Regions from separate parts of the Homo sapiens genome. Here all the other regions are linked to region 4. The links are contacts of gene promoters, found by promoter capture Hi-C in blood cells and fetal thymus (Javierre and others, 2016). All regions are on one chromosome and are shown on one strand. Each heading gives the region's core, a stretch centred on a gene start or on the middle of the fragment in contact. The rest is flanking DNA. Distances are from core to core; before and after follow the strand shown. Region 1 has its middle 16 kb from the start of AP5B1. Region 2 holds the start of KAT5 (lysine acetyltransferase 5). Region 3 overlaps LOC124902693. Region 4 holds the start of SART1 (spliceosome associated factor 1, recruiter of U4/U6.U5 tri-snRNP).

The links. The method cuts DNA at HindIII sites, captures the fragments that hold promoters and counts their contacts. A CHiCAGO score of 5 or more calls a contact.
Region 1: a contact is called between a fragment that was not itself captured here and the fragment with the promoter of SART1 in region 4, in 5 of 17 cell types (total CD8 T cells, megakaryocytes, naive B cells and 2 more). The highest score is 6.3, in total CD8 T cells.
Region 2: a contact is called between the fragment with the promoter of KAT5 here and the fragment with the promoter of SART1 in region 4, in 13 of 17 cell types (M2 macrophages, M0 macrophages, M1 macrophages and 10 more). The highest score is 10.9, in M2 macrophages.
Region 3: a fragment that was not itself captured here is called in contact with the fragment with the promoter of SART1 in region 4 in 1 of 17 cell types (endothelial precursors); the score reaches 5.2 in endothelial precursors.

The regions. Positions count from the first base shown.
Region 1 is chr11:65,763,202-65,765,901 of GRCh38, forward strand. No RefSeq gene overlaps it. Among named protein-coding and RNA genes, the nearest start is that of AP5B1, 16 kb to the right of the region's middle. The HindIII fragment of the contact is 191 bases long and covers 1,356-1,546 here.
Region 2 is chr11:65,710,976-65,713,675 of GRCh38, forward strand. KAT5 (lysine acetyltransferase 5) reads left to right here and starts at 1,277. Exons shown (of 13, transcript NM_182710.3): 1 at 1,277-1,470; 2 at 1,791-1,859; 3 at 1,947-2,083; 4 at 2,373-2,528; 5 at 2,618-2,692. The coding sequence starts at 1,293. RefSeq lists enhancers at 833-952, 983-1,292 and silencers at 1,323-1,512, 1,523-1,602. The HindIII fragment of the contact is 6,423 bases long and covers 1-1,832 here.
Region 3 is chr11:65,809,950-65,812,649 of GRCh38, forward strand. The region is part of intron 3 of LOC124902693; the gene reads right to left. Among named protein-coding and RNA genes, the nearest start is that of OVOL1-AS1, 20 kb to the left of the region's middle. The HindIII fragment of the contact is 2,558 bases long and covers 84-2,641 here.
Region 4 is chr11:65,960,483-65,963,306 of GRCh38, forward strand. SART1 (spliceosome associated factor 1, recruiter of U4/U6.U5 tri-snRNP) reads left to right here and starts at 1,252. Exons shown (of 20, transcript NM_005146.5): 1 at 1,252-1,611. The coding sequence starts at 1,299. RefSeq lists an enhancer at 1,110-1,897. The HindIII fragment of the contact is 10,638 bases long and covers 1-2,824 here.

The DNA.
Region 1 (2,700 bases), core at 201-2,700, 200 kb before region 4:
GGGGCTCCTCACATCCCAGACGATGGGCGGCCAGGCAGAGACGCTCCTCACTTCCCAGATGGCGTGGCAGCCGGGCAGAGGCTGCAATCTCGGCACTTTGGGAGGCCAAGGCAGGCGGCTGGGAGGTGGAGGTTGTAGCGAGCCGAGATCAGGCCACTGCACTCCAGCCTGGGCACCATTGAGCACTGAGTGAACGAGACTCTGTCTGCAATCCCAGCACTTCGGGAGGCCGAGGCTGGCGGATCACTCGCGGTTAGGAGCTGGAGACCAGCCCGGCCAACACAGCAAAACCCTGTCTCCACCAAAAAAATACGAAAACCAGTCAGGCGTGGCAGTGCGCGCCTGCAATCGCAGGCACTCGGCAGGCTGAGGCAGGAGAATCAGGCAGGGAGGTTGCAGTGAGCCGAGATGGCAGCAGTACAGTCCAGCTTCAGCTCGGCATCAGAGGAAGACCGTGGAAAGAGAGGGAGAGGGAGACCGTGGAAAGAGAGGGAGAGGGAGACCGTGGAAAGAGAGGGAGAGGGAGACCGTGGAAAGGGGAGAGGGAGAGCGATTTTCTGACTTTTAAACCTTTTATTCTCCACTTAGTGGCATAAAGGAATCTCTATTATGCAAAACTAATCTGAAAGTGAATAGTTATATAGTGGCTACAGAAAATTTTACCTTTTTTTTTTTTAGACGGATCCTCCAGGTTGGAATGCAGTGGTGTGATCTTGGCTCACTGCAACCTCTGCCTTCCGGTTTCAAGCAATTCTCCCGCCTCAGCCTCCCGAATAGCTGGGATTACAGGTGCATGCCACCACACCTGGCTACTTCTTGTATTTTTAGTAGAGATGGGGTTTCACCATATTGGCCAGGCTGGTCTCGAACTCCTGACCTTGTAATCCCCGGCCTCAGCCTCCCAAAGTGCTGGAATTACAGGTGTGAGCCACTGGGCCCGGTCGAAATATTTTCTATATCCATATTAAATGTGATTCTCTGTTCGTTGCCTGATTCTCACCAAATAGGGCAAGTAATTAAGGTTTCGCAAACACTTTGTTAGAATGGGCAACATTACATCAGAGGAGAATCGTCATGTTATTTGAAGTTGGTTTATCACTCTGCACCTCACTCTTATGTAGAAACTTGACTGACCACAAACACAAATGTTTTAACATTTAAATATCTGTGTATTCATTTTTATACTTCTTGAAAGTACTTCTAGGAGTACAAACATGAACTGCTAACAAGTCCTTTTTCCCCCAGATGGCAATATTATTGTGGGGGTAGAAGCATCTTCTGTCCTAACAAGAGGACCGACTCTTGCTGGCTCCTGGATGAGGCCTGGTCGCCAGAAAGATCAAGCCATAATGAGAAGCTTGAACCTTTCAGTCCCACCCCCCATTCTTCAGGAAGGGGAGAGAGGCTGGAGACTGAGTTAATAATCAACCATGCCTGGGTGATGAAGCCTCCATAAAAATCCTGGAACTACAGAATCTGGAGAGCTATTGGGCTGCTGAACACGTGAAGGTGCCTAGATGGTGGCACATCCCAGAGAGGGCAGGGAAGCTTAGCGGGTCTTCTGACATGCTTTGCCCTGTGCATCTGTATTCTGTTTAATAGTCTTTAGAATAAATGGGTAAACGTAAGTAAAGTTTCCCTGAGTTCTGTGAGCTGGCCTAGAAATTATCAAACTCCAGGATGGGGTTGTGGGAACCCCTATTTATAGCTCATTGGACAGAGGCACAGGTCACAGCCTGCGGCTTGCGACTGGCTTCTGAGGTGTGCACAGTCTTGCAGGACTGAGCCCTTAACCTGTGGGTTCTGACTGTAACTCCAGGTAGATGGTGTCAGAATTGAATTAAATTATAAGACACCCTGTTAGTGTCCACTAGAGAATTGTTTGGTGTGTGGGTTTGATCACCCACACATTTTGGTGATCAGAAGCATTCTATGTTGAGTGTGAATGTAGAAGGAAAAACAGTCCATTGTTTCCTAACTCATACAAAGGCTAAGGTGCTGTATGTGGGCAGTCTTTGCTTTGCCCAGTCCCCATATGGACATATTTGGCTTACCACATTTTAGTTTAATAACTCCAGTCCTCCCCACCAGCATGGTTCAAACTTCATTTGCCATGGAATTTTAACGAATTGTATAAGGTGCAAACCTTGCTGCTGGCTCTTTAGTCCAAAAAAATGACATAAATAACAGATGGGCATCATGATTAGGACATCACTGCTTTCGAAGACTAGTGGTGATTGGCTGGTCAGTGCCGGTGTGTTATTCAGCTCATGCAGACGTCAGACAAGTGTATAGGTGGGTTGCCTCCTCATCTCTCAGTGATCAACAGATATAACATTTTATGAAATTCAATGATTGGGCTGGGCGCAGTGGCTCACACCTGCAATCCCAGCACTTTGGGAGGCTGAGGTGGATGGATCACTTGAGGTCAGGAGTTCAAGACCATCCTGGCCAACATGGTGAAACCCTGTCTCTACTAAAAATACAAAAATTAGCCAGGCGTAGTGGTGGGCGCCTATAATCCCAGCTACTCGGAGGCTGAGGCAGGAGAATCACTTAAACCTGGGAGGCAGAGGTTGCCGTGAGCCGAGATTGTGCCACCGCACTCCAGCCTGGGTGACAGAGTGAGACTCCATCCATCTCAAAAAATAAATAAATAAAAAATAAATTGGATGGATAATTGGAAGGGGGAATGGCTAA
Region 2 (2,700 bases), core at 27-2,526, 250 kb before region 4:
TTCACCGTGTTGGCCAGGATGGTCTCAATCTCCTGACCTCGTGATCCGCCCGCCTCGGCCTCCCAAAGTGCTGGGATTATAGGCGTGAGCCACCGCGCCCAGCCGTTTTGTCCCATTATTTTAGATGCCAAGAACCTGTACACCCTCCACCGGTGACACCTTCACAGTTTTGAGGAGTATTCATGGGGTATTTTGTAAAATGTTTCTCAATTGGGATTTGTCTGATGTTTTTCTCATGATTAGACTGGAGGCAGCTGGGATTACAGGTGTGAGCCACCATGCCCAGTCTCCAAACCCTGTTTACACAAAAATTTTAAAAAACTAGCCAGGCTTGGTGGTGCGCGCCTGTAGTCCCAGCTACTAGAGAGCCTGAGGTGGATCACTTGATCCCGGGAGGGGGAGGCTGCAGTGAGCGGAGATTGTGCCTCGCTGGCTGCACTCCAGCCCGGGCGAGAGAGCCAGACCTTGTCTCAAAAAAAAAAAAAAAAAAAAAAAAAGCCTAATATGGCTGAGGGCGGTGGCTCACGCCTGTAATCCCAGTACTTTGTGAGGCCGAGGCGGGCGGATCACGAGGTCAAGAGCTCTAGACCATCCTGGCCAACATGGTGAAACCCCGCCCGTACTAAAAATACAAAAATTAGTTGGGTACTCGGGAGGCTGAGGCAGGAGAATCGCTTGAACCCGGGAGGCGGGGGTTACAGGGAGCTGAGATCGCGCCACTGCACTCCAGCCTGGCGACAGAGCGAGACTCCGTCTCAAAAATAAATATATACAAATTAAAAAAGCCTAATATACAAAATAAAGCTAGGAATCTTCCCTGAGTCCTCTTGCCTACGGAATGAAGTCCACAGACTTGGGGGAGCGTTCGAACCCTTCTAAGGCCACTTCCTTTCTCCAGCCTCTCGCGCCCAGTTGACTCCCGGCAACACCTCCCGCCGCCACAAGGAGACGCCCGAGGACTTCCCTCCGACAAAGCCAAAAACGGTATTGCCACGTGACCCGCTCCGCATACACGTGACCAGCTTCGCACCCGGTGGGCGTCACGTGACGGACTCAGTAGACCGCCACTGGCTGTGCACGTTATGGGGTTTCCACCTAGGGCTCGGCCTGAGGCTTGTAACACTCCGTTTTCCCCCGAGTCACAGGGGCAGTCTTGCCCCTCGCAGCTGGGTCGCGGTGTCTCTCAAAGGTCCCCCTCTACAGGGGCTTCGTGAGGCCCGGGCCCACAGGGCGCTCGGTCCCGGAAGTGACGTCTCCCAGAGGGGCCGGAAGTGGCAGTGGAGGGAGGGAAGATGGCGGAGGTGGTGAGTCCGGTGCCCGGGGCGGGGCGGAGGGAGCCAGGGGAGGTGGGTAGAGCCCGAGGCCCCCCAGTAGCCGACCCTGGCGTCGCGCTGTCTCCCCAGGGGGAGATAATCGAGGGCTGCCGCCTACCCGTGCTGCGGCGGAACCAGGACAACGAAGATGAGTGGCGTGAGTGACGTTGGGGGGCGGGACTAAGGAACCTGAGGGCGAGGGGCGGGAGTCAACTGAAATCCCGGGATGGGGAGGGGCGTCTGGAATTATGGGGCGGGCGAGGCGCAGATACTTTGATGAAGGGGCGTGGCTCTTAGCTGCTCCGAGAGGTACAGGGCGGGGCCTGGAAAGGGGTGGCACTTGTGACTGAAGGAGGCTTAGGAGAGACCTAAGTGCTGGAGCTTAGGGATCCGGCCTGGGGGTGGAGTTCAGGTCGTGGAAGGGTGGAGTCTCATAGCCTGGCCTGTCTAAGGCCCCTGTCTATGCTATTCTCATAGCCCTGGCCGAGATCCTGAGCGTGAAGGACATCAGTGGCCGGAAGCTTTTCTACGTCCATTACATTGACTGTGAGTTCTGGGCCTGAGGTGGGGCATCAGGGTAGGGTTGGGGGACAGTCTTTGGCATTCTGTCCTGAGCCATCCCCACTGCTACAGTCAACAAACGTCTGGATGAATGGGTGACGCATGAGCGGCTGGACCTAAAGAAGATCCAGTTCCCCAAGAAAGAGGCCAAGACCCCCACTAAGAACGGACTTCCTGGGTCCCGTCCTGGCTCTCCAGAGAGAGAGGTGGTGAGTAGGTCCCCCACTTCACCTTTTCTCTCCTGCCTCCTATTTCTCTTGTCTGTTGGCATTAGGAGCTCCTGGATGGGCAGGAGGCGGCTCCCTCTCACCCTGACTTCATCTTGCAAAGGATGGGGGCCAAATTGCACATGTAGCTCCCAGAGTCCAGTAGCTAGTCCTGTGTCCTTCAGAAGGCGAGGGTGGGGTTTGATAATTTTGAGGTGAGGGACCCCTCTTCCCCTTCCCCATCCCACTGCCATCCCCGCCCCAAAGGAAGACCCTGGACCTATCTCTACAGCCGGCCTCGGCGCAGGCCAGCGGGAAGACCTTGCCAATCCCGGTCCAGATCACACTCCGCTTCAACCTGCCCAAGGAGCGGGAGGCCATTCCCGGTGGCGAGCCTGACCAGCCGCTCTCCTCCAGCTCCTGCCTGCAGCCCAACCACCGCTCAACGGTACCCTCAGCAATTCCAGGGACCTTGCTTTCTTCTCAGGTCCCACCTTCTCTACCTTCTGACCCACCTTTGTTGGTTTCTCTCTGCAGAAACGGAAGGTGGAGGTGGTTTCACCAGCAACTCCAGTGCCCAGCGAGACAGCCCCGGCCTCGGTTTTTCCCCAGGTGAGTTC
Region 3 (2,700 bases), core at 113-2,612, 150 kb before region 4:
CCAGAACGGCAATCTGGGTCTGTGCATCATGTTCTAGCCAACAAAACATCCCACCTTGGATTTTATTTTTTAAATCTATTCAAAGCTTCGGTTCCGCATCCAATTCCCAGAGAGGCCATCCCCTTGTCCAAATGGGCAGAGTGGCATGCCAGCACTGAGCCACCTCTGGAGGGGGCTGGCCACCTCTGGATGGGTCGGCACCCTCTCACAGGGGTGAACACTGCAGACTGGAACTGAGCTTCTCTCTGCTCCTCTGATTTGAGGAGAGAGCACACCTGATACCACAGCAAGCACTTGTTCTTGGCACTTGGTGTCACTCTTGCTTCATCTTGGCTCAGCTTAAACCCTTCAACTGAATGGTGGCGATCACCACAGAGGAGAACTCTCTTCTTCCCCCTCCGTGCCACATGCACACACATGCACACTCACACACACGCACACAATTGTACACACATGCACACTCACATACGTGCACAATTATACACACACGCAATCACACACACATGCACTCACATGCACACACGTAGACACACGCACAATTGCACACACATGCACACGTGCACTCACGCGTACACACTCGCACACACATGCACACTCGCACACACGTTGAGACGTGCACTCACGTATACACTCCCACACACGTTCAGACGTGCACTCACGTGCACACTCGCAAACACGCACACTCACACATGCACACTCACACACATGCACACTCACATGCCCGCCAGGGCAGGAGCCTGGCTCTCCAGGAGGCAGGGCAAGTGTCCAGACAGAAGGATGAGAGCCATGTTGTGGCACAGGAGGGCCCCATGGTGGATGATGGGGAGGAAGGGCCATGTGGACAGGCAGGGGTGGGGTTGGGAGGGGCTCCTCATCTTTCCTGAGCAGGGCCCGGGTGGAACCAAGTCTCCTGGAATTGTTCATTGTTGACTTCACCAACATATTCTTAAAACTTGAAATTGCTCAGAAGATAATCTAACAGCACAAACATGCACACATAAACAGTAAGAGTCCCTTGGCATCAAACTGGCAAACTGTGGTGGCAGAAACACAGGAAGGATCCACTCCCGGTGTGAGGCTTGCTGTCCCTCCCTCTTCAATGCGCTGGCTACCAAGCCTTTGCCAATCCCCAGTGCAGCAGTTCACAGACTTTTTACTGCTAAGAACGGCTTTTGGCAACCCCAAAAATGTGATGTGCCCTTTCGGTGGGTAGAATTAATTGGCGTAATAGAACGTGTCCTCCTCTCAGGCCTCAGCACTGCTGCTGCATCTTCGCAGCCTCTCTCAGCCTCGGTTCTGCCACCTTTCCTCACTCATACAACAACAGGCTCCTCCTATCGAGGAGGTAATGAGCTCCCACTGGACTTTGGGGTCCTCTAGAGTCACCTGCAAACTCCACTCCTCCCTCCCAACGTCGTCTCTAGAAGATTCCTTTGTCCTCGAGGCTCTCCTTTCAGTGAAGGACCCTCATGAGGACACAGTGCCTCCTCTGGGACACACAGCCATAATACTCTTGTCATAAGAAATCCAACTCCTTGACCGGGCTTGGTGGCTCACGCCTGTAATCCCAGCACTTTGGGAGGCCAAGGCAGGTGGATCACCTGAGGTCAAGAGTTCGAGACCAGCCTGACCAACATGGTGAAACCCCATCTCTACTAAAAATACAAAAATTAGCTGGGCGTGGTGGTGCGTGCCTGTAATCCCAGCTACTCGGGCGGCTGAGGCAGAAGAATCACTTGAACCCGGGAGGTGGAGGTTGCAGTGAGCAGAGATCATACCACTGCCCTCCAGCCTGGGCGACAGAGCAAGACTCTGTCGAAAAAGAAAAAGAAAAAAGAAAAGAAAAGAAAGAAATCCAACTCCTCTGCTACCCATGAGGGAAGGTGGCTCAGGATGAAAGGGAAGTTTGACAATCCCTAAATATCACAGGCTTAAGAAGAGCCATTACCCAAGAAGTCGTGTGGAAAGAGCTGCCGGCCTCAGCCACAGCTGTCCTCTACCCACACTGCCGCCTGCCGCAGGCCACAGCACCGTCAGCCGAAAAAGCCCACTGATATCTGGGTTACAGGGCTTGAGGCTGCCTTGATTTCTGGCTAACAGCTGGGCCGTCCTCGGCAAGAGCTCTCCTGGGAACGGGTTGGGGAGATTCCCCGTGCCCTGTCATTCTGATGTCTCCCTGCACAAGGGAGCGGGTTAACCATGTCCTTGCCACCTCATCTTCGAAAACAACTCATAAAAGCGCATCAGAGGAAACAGTCTTTTCATCCCACCTATCATTAGTTCCCAGAACAGGGGCTGGAAGTAGGCAGCCTCCCTGGGAGTTTGCGGGATGAGGCAACACCGGCGCCTGAGCTACCATTTAGCCTATTTCTAGAGATAAGCCTGTTGATGTCAAAGTAAGGAATGACCAACTCCAGCCAACAGCGCCCTGTGGGACTGGGTCTGTGACATCTCCTTTCTCCCAGGCACCATCCCCAGGGCAGGAGACAGGAACCCTAGATCGTGGGGGTTTGTGAACTGACCTAGGTAAATAATAACAAGTTGGGCTGCACTCTCCTTGAGGTAATTCAAAGTACTTTATCACCATTACCTCACTGATCTTAACTAACATCCAAGGAAGGAAGGAAAGAAAAAAGGCAGAAGCTTTCTCATTTCCTAAAACAAAAGTGAATGGGGGCTGGGTGCGGTGGCTCACACCTG
Region 4 (2,824 bases), core at 2-2,501:
CTGCAACCTCTGCCTCCCAGGTTCAAGCGATTCTCCTGCCTCAGCCTCCTGAGTAGCTGGGACTACAGGTGTGCGCCACCACACCCAGCTAATTTTTGTATTTTTAGTAGAGACGGGGTTTTACCATGTAGGCCAGGATGGTCTCGATCTCTTGACCTCGTGATTCGCCTGCCTTGGCCTCCCAAAGTGCTGGGATTACAGGCGTGAGCCACCGCGCCCGGCCTGCACTGGGGTTTTAAGTCCCAATAGTTTTAAGTTAGGGCTGGTCTCCTCAAGAAAAAAACTCATACACACAGATGTGCCACATTTTGCATTCAATTTCAGGGGTTCCAGGGATACACTGACGCCCATGTGGAGCTCCTAAACAATCTTAACAGTTCACGGGGCCAGGTTTTAAAAATCCAATCCAGGGCCAGGCGCAGTGGCGCATGCCTGTAATCTCAGCACTTTGGGAGGCCAAGGCGGGTGTATAGCCTGAGCTCAGGAGTTCGAGACCAGCCTGGCCAACATAGTGACCCCACCCCCTACCCCCGCTCCCCACCAACCATCTACAAAAAAATACAAAAATTAAAGGGGCGTGGTAGCGTACTCTCGTAGTCCCAGCTACTGGGAAGGCTGAGGTGGGAGGATCACTTGAGCCCAGGAGGTCGAGGCTGCAGTGCGCTGTGATCACGCCACTGCACTCCAGCCTGAGCAACAGAGTGAGATCCTATCTCAAGGGAAAAAACAAAACAAAACAAAACAGGGAACGTGGGAAGGAAGCGTTCCCTGACGATACTGGTTATAGCGGGTCTGAAGCTGGGCTGTGGAATTGGAGATCTCGGGAAAACAACACCCGTTGGAGCCACGACCCTAGGAGTCCACTAAGCGAGCGCCCATTGTAGGAGGGAGGTGTCTACGGAAAGACCGTGAGGTAGTGAACACCCCGTTGCCGGTGAAGTGCAAGCGCAGGGAGGCCGGGGAGGAACTTAAAGCCACGAAGACACTGACTTAATGGGCTCTAAGTCCTTCCAGTTCTGGGATCCCACCTCCGGGTTAATTCCGCTTCCCTTGAGGAGCGCATGCGCAATGGGACCACTCGCTCAAAGAACCCACCCGACCCGAGACGGCGCGAATGTGCAGTCGAGCGCTGATCCCGGCCTTCCCATGAGCCTCTGGGGCAGGCTCCAAGGCGAGCGACGGAAGCAGCCGCTCTTAGTTTCCGGCAACACGACAGCGGCTGCCGAGCGACCCGGAAGTATTCCCATTTTGCGTTGTCTGGGCTCGGCGGCAGCCGGGCTCGGAGTGGACGTGCCACTATGGGGTCGTCCAAGAAGCATCGCGGAGAGAAGGAGGCGGCCGGGACGACGGCGGCGGCCGGCACCGGGGGTGCCACCGAGCAGCCGCCGCGGCACCGGGAACACAAAAAACACAAGCACCGGAGTGGCGGCAGTGGCGGTAGCGGTGGCGAACGACGGAAGCGGAGCCGGGAACGTGGGGGCGAGCGCGGGAGCGGGCGGCGCGGGGCCGAAGCTGAGGCCCGGAGCAGCACGCACGGGCGGGAGCGCAGCCAGGCAGAGCCCTCCGAGCGGCGCGTGAAGCGGGAGAAGCGCGATGACGGCTACGAGGCCGGTGAGGAGGCGGGGCCTGCGCAGGGGGCGGGTCGGGCGGGGGTCCCGGAACGCGTGGGTCTGGGTGTGCGCGCAGTGTCAGCGAAGCTCTTCAGGCCAGGAAACCCCCAAGCTGTTTACCAGCTCTATTAAATAGTCTTTCTACGGGATCCCTTGAGCCCAGGAGTTAGAGGCTGCAGTGAGCTGCGGTCCCGCCAGTGTACTCCAGCCTGGGCAACAAAGCGAGACTCTGTCTCAAAAAGAAAAAAGTCTTTCTACGGTTGTTTAGGATTAGAGGTTGACTTTCTCCACTCAGCTGCTTGAGGACAGAGGGCTTCTGTTTTCCTCAGTTGTCTGGTACAATCAGATTCTCAATAAATATGTTGAATGAGTGAATGAAGTAGTGTCAGCATATACAGAGGCAAGAAAAACCTGGTATTGGACGAATCGTGTAGGGCGCATGGTAGAGAAATGAGGGAGTAAGATAGACAGGGATGTGAACACAAAGGACCCTGTACTGTAGTCTCTGTTAAGAACTGTAGATTGTCTTGAGGATAGTAGGGAGCCATGGATGTGAGTTGAGGAGTGAGTTGCTCAGATCCGTATTTTGTAAACATCACTGGATTGAGAATTTAGTCAAAGGTAGTCAGGACTGGAGACCAGGAAACCAGGAGGGCTATAGGCCAGGGGAGGGCTGATGGTGGCCTGCACCAAGGCAGCAGCAGTGGGATTGAGAGAAGTGGACAGGTTGGAGAGGTGTTTTGGAGGAGGAATGAACAGAACTCAGCACTTGTATGAGGGTGGGAAGAAGGAATGGAGGATGACTCCTTGAATTTTGGCTTGAGCAGCCAGATAGGTAGTGGGTGTCATTTCTACTGAAATTGAGGAGTAGGGAAGAGAAGCAGATTTGGAGCGGGGGTGGGGGGAGATAGTTCACTTTTGGGGTTGTCAAGGTTGATGGTAATGGGGAAATCCAGAGTTTGGACTGGATAAAGCCATTGGGAGTCAGTATCTGGGTGGCCAGTGAAGCCCCTGAAAGACTGTGACATGAGAAGAGGGGGTCAGGACTAGAACCTGAGAAATGCCCTTATGTTAGTAGTAGGCAGAGAAAGATGTTACCAAAAAAAGGAGACAGAGTAACCAAAAAGGCAGGAAAACCTTTGTGTCATGGGAACTTTGGGAAGAGAGTATTGTTAGAAGGAGGGAGCGATCAGCAGTCCCACATACCACAGGAG